Linked DNA regions of Homo sapiens: region 2 is linked to region 1. The links are contacts of gene promoters, found by promoter capture Hi-C in human tissues and cell types (Jung and others, 2019). All regions are on one chromosome and are shown on one strand. Each heading gives the region's core, a stretch centred on a gene start or on the middle of the fragment in contact. The rest is flanking DNA. Distances are from core to core; before and after follow the strand shown.

Region 1 (4,122 bases), core at 984-3,483:
CACCACCACACCCAGCTAATTCTTGTATTTTTAGTAGAGATGAGGTTTCACCTTGTTGGCCAGGCTGGTCTCAAACTCCTGACCTCAAGTGATCCTCCTGCCTCGGCCTGCCAAAGTGCTGGGATTACAGGCATGAGCCACTGCGCCTGGCCAGCAACTGTGTTTTTACAAAGCTCCTGGTGTCTCTGACCTGCTACCGCTACCGAGATAGTCTATTTTACAAGTGAGGGAATGAGGCCCCAGAGGGCATGTGGATTGGTCAAGGTAGAGTGAGTCAGGAGCAGAGCTGAGTAGAAGCTCTTCAGGACTTAGGCCTCAGGCCTCAGCCCTCCAACTTCCAATCAGCTCCCTCCTCTGCCAGGTTTTGGAAGGAGGGAGAGGGGAAACCAGGAGACCCACTACCAGAGCCTGAGCTGAACCCTGACAATCCGCTTGATGGTAAAACCAGTGAACCTCTGCTCCTCCACCTCCTGGCTGGCCTTTCCACGGCCACAGCCTCTCCTCGCTATTCTCACAGCCTCCTCCTTTGTCGTCATGTTTGAACTTCTCACTTGCCTGATTCAGCTTTGCCACCTTCTTAAGCTGTAAAACCGCAAACAAAAGGTCATCACATGAGATAGTTTAAGGGCATATTTGCCAGGAAACTGACCAAAGCTGACCTAATCTGTTAGGCCTCAGTGTTCTCATTTGTAAAATAGGATCATAATAGTATCCACCCCTCTAAGTTGTGCTGAGGACCCAAGGGCAGAGCATTTGGCACACAGTAGGTGCATAATTGCTTAAAGAGGGATGTCCACAATAGTACTGATATCATGCCTTTCTGGGTTGTTAATATTTTAAGTATCATTAAATACACAAATATATATCGATCTCTTTGTCCCCTCCAAAAGGGTTCCCAGCAAACGGTCTGAGGTGATGAGCAATGCTGTGGAAGGAGAGATATTCGTCTAACAGTTTGTCATTCACCAAGAGGTTTATATTTGTTATTATAAGGACTTTTGTGATTATTATTCATTGGGCTTCATTAACAATTCTATGACACAGAAAACAGCTTTACAGACAAGCGAGCTGCGGCTTAGGGACATTAGCAGAGCACCAGACCACACAGTGAGACAGTGGCCTCACAGCCTCGAGGCTCTCCTCGGTGTGGATGGCTTTCCCCTGTGGGAGCTGATGCCTTTCTGTGGCTTCCTCTCCTTCCACCACAGCCAGAGGGGCAGTGTCAGGGAGTGTGAGAAAAGGGTGTGGAAACTGAGGCCCAGAGAAGAAAAGTCACCGCCTGAAGTCACAGGCTCCTCTGCCCCTCACCTCCCATCAGGGGTCCCTCCCTGGCACCCACTTTCTGCCCACCCTCCGCTCCTCCATCACCTCACCTCGGGTTCTCAGAGAGACAGCCTGCACAGCAGAGAGCCCTGGGCTCCTTTGGGTCCTGGCAGACGGTGGGAGGGCACCCAAAGGGAAACTCATTCTCATCAGGGGCCGGGCGAGGACTGCTGCCTGAGCTGGAGGCCATCTCAGGGTTCCAGGCTGGCCAGAGGGCCTGTTTAAGTTGCTCCAGGGCAGGGGACCAGCCTTGTGGAGTCCTGGCCTGGGCCTCACTCTCTGGTGAGTAGGAGCTCTGATGACTTTATCTTCTTCTCTCTGGCTTGTGTGGTTCAACGTCACAGCTGAGTCACAGCAGGGATGGAGCAGGAATTACCCTTTGTGGCGATAAAAATCCCCTGGATGGTGACTGAAGGCTTTAGGAGTGTCCAGTCATTTTTTTTTTTTTTTAGAGTGAGAAAAAGCAAGAGAGCAAGTCAGAGAAAATGACCCGTGTCACAGACTCTCAGAAAGCACAGTGAGAGTTCCCCTGGTTGAGAATCGCAGGCTGCCGCTGGCTTCCCCCACTTCCCTGGGCACATCGGAGGAGGGGGCCACAGCTGGTCCCTGGTCTGTGTTCCCTGGCACCTCTGAGCAGCCTGGAATTCTCAGTGGGGGTGCTCACCTTCCTGGTGGAAATCCCCAGGGTGTTGGAGACAGGTCCAAAATTTCAAGTTCTAGGCGCTTTTGCTCTGCTCTGTTTGGAGTGTCTGGGTGACCTCAAGGAGAAGTCACTTCCTCACAGTGGGTTCTGATGACTCCATCTGTAAAAAAGAAGTTGCAACAGGTGGCCTCTGGGCTGTAAGATTCTGGGACCCTATCTTGCCTGGGACTGAGGCAACCAGAAGGAGCAGGAAAGCCCTGATGAAATCCAAGGCCTAGGACCACAGACTCCTCAGGGCCCTCCCCACACCACCCCACTCAGGAAGTCATAGGTGGCTACATGCTCCGGTCAGGTGCCACCACTTTACTGCCTCAAGGAGAACAAAGCGCTAAACAAATGCAAGATCACAGCAGCTGGTCTCAGCATCCAAGTGGGATGTAGATCCACATTTGCAGGAAAAGTGCACTGGGGAAACGATGGCTCCCAGAATGTGTACTGTGTGCTGGGCAACAGTTTCCCTCCAAATCCTTACAGCAACCTGCAAGGAATTCTTCTGCAGCTGTATATAGGGTCAGAGAAGCAAGATGCCTGGTCCAAAGGCACACAGCCTCTGGTAGTGGAGTGGGATTCACACCAGGGCTGTGGGGCCCCAAGCTCTGTGTGCTTGGGATGGAGATCAGAGTACCCAGCTCTTGTCTCATCTATCAAATGGAGAAGACAATCCCTACACATCTTTCCATCCTGCTTGGCTGCTACAGAGGTTTTGCAAACTTTCACAGTGGTTTCAGATCATGGGTTTTGAGGTCAGACAGAGCTGAGTTGAAATCCTGGGTCCACTGCTTACTAACTGTGGGCCCTGGGACAAAGTCCTTAACTTCCCTGAAACTCAGATTCTGCATCTGTAAAATGGGACAATAATACCTATTTCACCCATTTGTTGTGATGACTAAATGAGATAGTGGGTCAAAGTGTGGTGTGTAACCCAAGTGAAGTACTTGAATGACATTTGGCTCAGATGGTGACTACAGGCCTTCCAGCTCCTCAGAGAAAAGGATTAAAGTGGTGCATTATGCTTATACTGTGCTTTCACGTCTATCTACTGGAGCCTCAACAGGTGGGCAGGGCAGGTCATCTGGCCTGAGATACATTAAACTGCCCACCTGCCCTGGTGTAACACCAGGGCTGCCACAGGCTGGTGGCAAAGACAGCACGGCATCTTACCGCCACAATGTACATCAGGACCTCCACCCCCATAACAAACGACCTCCAGGCCTGCATCAAGACTATCAGAAGACACTCCCTTTTAACTGTGTACCCCATACCTGCAAGCTTTCCTGCAGCCAGCCCTACCTGTTCCCTCCTTCCCCTGGTTTGGGATAAAACAGGCACCCAAGACTTCTCTCCCCATCTGTGGGTCCCTTCTCTCCCCTCCGGCCTCAATACCACCCTCTCTACCTGCTCATTCCCACGGACATCAAAACGTGCGCAACCTGCTCTAATAAGAAAAGGGAAAAATAGTACTACTTTTGGGTACCGTCTTACGTAATTTTACAGACATCATCTCATCTAATTTTCACTCTGTGAAGCAGGTATTGCCATCATCATCCCCACCTTACAGATGAGAAAACTGAGGCACAGAGAGGCTAAGCGACTTGTTCAAGGTCTCACAGCTAGTGAGTGGGGACCCCTGAACCCAGAGCCAGTCCTGTAACCACGCACGCTTTTAAAACACTCTTTATTCTCGTCTCCAATTTCTACATCTACTCTCGCCTCACCTAACGGTAGAACTTCTAGAAAAGATTGTCTATACAGGCACTTGGATCTCCAGGGAATCATCTCTCCAAGTGTATACGCATGTCGGGGACGCCAAATGCCCTGGGCCCGCCCCAGTTTCTATCCAACCAGCCCTCCTGCCAGCACCTGACCCGGCTCTCAGCCCTTCCTTCCGGAATCCCTTCCTTTCCCCGGCTTCCCGCATCCTCTGCGGGGAATTCCCCCCGCGTCTCTGGTGGCTCCTTATCCGTCTCCTTGACCCCTTTCTCTTCTACACTGGGCCTCCATCGGCTCCATCCACGAGGAGTCTCTCTGCGCCGCGTGTCCCCATCTCCCACTCGTCCTTTGGGGCGCCCCTGCACCAGACCCCACTCCCACGGGAA
Region 2 (3,595 bases), core at 563-3,062, 340 kb before region 1:
GATCTGCCCACCTCGGCCTCCCAAAGTGCTGGGATTACAGGCATGAGCCACTGCGCCTGGCCCAAGCTGCCCTTCTAAACCATGGCCGTGCTGAGATTCAAACCCATGCCTGTCTGGTCCCACAGTTGGCAGTATTTCTGGCAGACACATCTGCCCCCTTGCTCCCAAGACCTCTTACCAACCAACCCTCAACACCAGCAGTCCTTATTAGGACCAGTTCTCAATTAGTACCCACTGCCTTCTCTGAAGAGCAGGGTGATCAAGTCAGTGATGCCTTCTGGGCCCAACATGTAGCCCCAGGCTGTGCACATAGTAGATGCTCAATGCCAGTTTGTCAAATTAACTCCAAGTCCTGACTTTTTCTCAAGATGGAAAGTGGAATGAGAAATACCAAATATCAAAGGAATAGAATATAGATTATTGGACTAGGGATGGTAACACACATCAACATAATATAAGGTTAATACCAATCTCCCAGTTCAACTCTCTGGGCCTATTTTCTTATCTGTATGCTGAGTGCATTACACTACAACATTGAGGCCCCTTCAGCTGTGATGTTCCATGAATAACTAAAATTAGCTACCATATATTAAGCTCTTTCTATGTGCCAGGTACTGTGTTATATACTTTGCATTCAATCCTCACAATAACCTTATGAAACAAGAACTGATTATGCTCCAACTTTATGGTTGACAAAACTGAAGTACAAAGAGAAGAAAGAGTTGCCTGGCCATTGAAGGGGATCAAAATATGCCATCCCAACATATGCCCCTTTTGCATAAGGATTATTTTGAGCTGAAGACAATTGAGAATCAACAGATGCAGAAAGAATTTTCTGCCTTCTCCTTTTCTACCCTGAAGCAGGACATAAATTCCCCTTTGTGAACATGTGCCTCCTCCCTGTCTACCATTAGTTTCCCCCATATATTCCCTAATCACTTCCCCATGATTTATCAGCCTTGAAGCTCAACACTCCCTTCTTTTGCTATAATGGGATAAAAGCCCTTGAGCCTAACCACTTATTTGAGTTTCACTTCTTTTCTATGAACTCTTGTGCACATAACTATTAATAAAAATTAATATGCCTTTTCTCCTGTTAATCTGTCTTTTGTCCATTTAATACACAGAACCCTCAGGTACTGAACCAGACAGGTTAAAGGAAAGTTTTGCCCCGACACCATCCAAGTAGCTCAGTTGTGAAGACAGGATTTGAACCCAGAATTCATCCAAAAGCCCATGTTCTTAACCACTAGGCCGTAGTGCCTTTCACTGAATACCTGTCCTCAAGAAGCTGGTGAAAATGCACATACATAATTATGAAACAAAGCAAAACATTTTAAATACTTTGTTGGTATAAGAAAGATAACAGGGCTGGGCACGGTGGCTCACGCCTGTAATCCCAGCACTTTGGGAGGCCGAGGCAGGTGGATCACAAGGTCAGGAGATCGAGACCATCCTGGCCAACGTGGAGAAACCCCGTCTCTACTAAAATACAAAAAAAATTAGCCGGGTGTGGTGACACGCACCTGTAGTCCCAGCTACTCAGGAGGCTGAGGTAGGGGAATCGCTTGAACCTGGGAGGTGGAGGTTGCAGTGAGCAGAGATCGTGCCACTGCACTCCAGCCTCGTGACAGAGCAGGACTCCATCTCAAAAAAAAAAAAAAAAAGAAAAGAAAAAGAAAAAGAACAGTGAGATTCTAGGATCACAGAAGGGATTGAGTCATTCTGATTGAGCAGTTGGGGAAGGCTGTTTTACAAGTAAGACCTATGCCCTGCAAAAGCAGGATAAAAACCTGTACATACTATTATGTGCACTAGCTCCTCATGTTTGAAGGCCAACAGAGATCAAATAAAATCCCTACTTGATGCAACTATTTAAAAAGCCCATGTCACATTCTTCATCCCTTGATTCTACCTCACAACAGCTCTAAGACAAGTTTGTTATCATTCTTCTACTGATAAGGAAATTGAGACTCAGAGACATGAACCGATTTTCCCAAAGTCACACAGCAAGCTAGTGACAGAGAGGAGCTTGGACCTCCATTTCCTGATTCACAAAAGGTGGTTCCTGAGCTTTTTGAAACTTGCAGGAGCCAGAGATATGTCCCACGGCAAGATCTCCTACCTAAATTGATCATCCTCAGTACGATGGCCACATCCCCACCCACTTAAATCCAGGGTCTGGCTAACAGAGATCTAAAAGCTGCTGGAAAAATTATCCTAGGATGCCAGAGAGTGCTTTCAAGCACCCTCTCCAGCTGCACATTGAATATGTAAAGCAGCAATAGCTCTAAGCAGAGAAGGGTAATTGAATTAATCAACTGTCTGGACATTTTGCAGATTAAAAGAAGTACTTAATGTCTTGTGACTTGCAGGAGGGGACGGTAAACTTTGCATCTCCCTTAAATGCAGTGAATTCACATTGAGAGCACAGAGCAGGAACTAGAGAAGGATGAACACAACACTTGTGGCAGCTGCAGTGCCTCCTTCCTTAAAGGGATAAATGACAGTCCCCTTTTCCTTGCATGTGTCCTCCTGTGTGTGTGACATGCCACCAAGTACACTGCACAGGCTGTGCCCTACACAAGCACATCCACCCAAAGGAGGAGTGGAGGCTGAAATTGAGTCCGTGCTGTGCTGGACAAGCTGTGAGTTTATCCCAAAGCAGGGATGCCTTTTTTCTAATTCACACAAAAGAACTATACATGCCAGTGACTCTTAGAGTCTAAAATATGCTTCCTTCCCCTTCTCTGTGAGTCCTAGGGTCCTCTGAACAACAGTTTAAGAGAAAGTTTTGGGACCCAGTTTGGGTAGATGTCCCACCTCTGGACTCCCAGCATACCCTGAGCTTATCATCATTGTGACATTTAGCTCTGTAATTGTTAACTTGGCTGCCACAGTGTGAACTCCTTGAGGCCAGGAGAGGCAATGTCAATATTTTATTTTCATTTCATTTTATTTTTTGAGACAGAATTTCACTCTTGCAGCCCAGGCTGGAGTGCAGTGGCACAATCTCGGCTCACTGCAACCTCCGCCTCCCAGGTTCAAGCCATTCTCCTGCTTCAGTCTCCCAAGTAGCTGGGACTACAGGTGTGCGCCACCATGCCCAGCTAATTTTTGTATTTTTAGTAGAAACAGCGTTTCACTGTAGTGGCCAGACTGGTCCTGAACTCCCAACCCAGGTGTTCTGCCCACCTCGGCCTCCCAAAGTGCTGGAATTACAGGCATGAGCCACCACACCTGGCCAATGTTAATATTTTAAATCAACTTTATTGAGATAGAATTTACACAAAATAGGTGTACCCACTTCAAGTATACATTCTGGTGAGTTTTGGCAAACTTACATACTCATGTAGCCATCATCAGAATCAAGAGATACAGAATAGCAGACTGGACGCGGTGGCTCATGCCTATAACCCTAGCACTTTGGGAGGCTGAGGCGGGCAGATCACTTGAGGCCAGAAGTTCAAGACCAGCCTGGCCAAAGTGGTGTTACCCCATCTCTACTAAAAATACAAAAATTAGCTGGGCATGGTGTTGTGTGCCTGTAATCCCAGCTACTCCAGAGGCTGAGATAGGAGAATCACTTCTTGAA

What was found. Contacts are between HindIII fragments. The study calls those that stand out against the background at their distance.
Region 2: a contact is called between a fragment that was not itself captured here and the fragment with the promoter of TRAF1 in region 1, in 2 of the 25 tissues and cell types used here (dorsolateral prefrontal cortex and hippocampus).

The regions. Positions count from the first base shown.
Region 1 is chr9:120,924,563-120,928,684 of GRCh38, forward strand. TRAF1 (TNF receptor associated factor 1) reads right to left here and starts at 2,234. Exons shown (of 8, transcript NM_005658.5): 1 at 1,988-2,234; 2 at 1,374-1,739. The coding sequence starts at 1,513. RefSeq lists enhancers at 863-1,386, 983-1,052, 1,513-1,852, 2,193-2,512. The HindIII fragment of the contact is 9,494 bases long and covers 1-4,122 here.
Region 2 is chr9:120,585,122-120,588,716 of GRCh38, forward strand. No RefSeq gene overlaps it. Among named protein-coding and RNA genes, the nearest start is that of CDK5RAP2, 6.8 kb to the left of the region's middle. The HindIII fragment of the contact is 7,435 bases long and covers 1-3,595 here.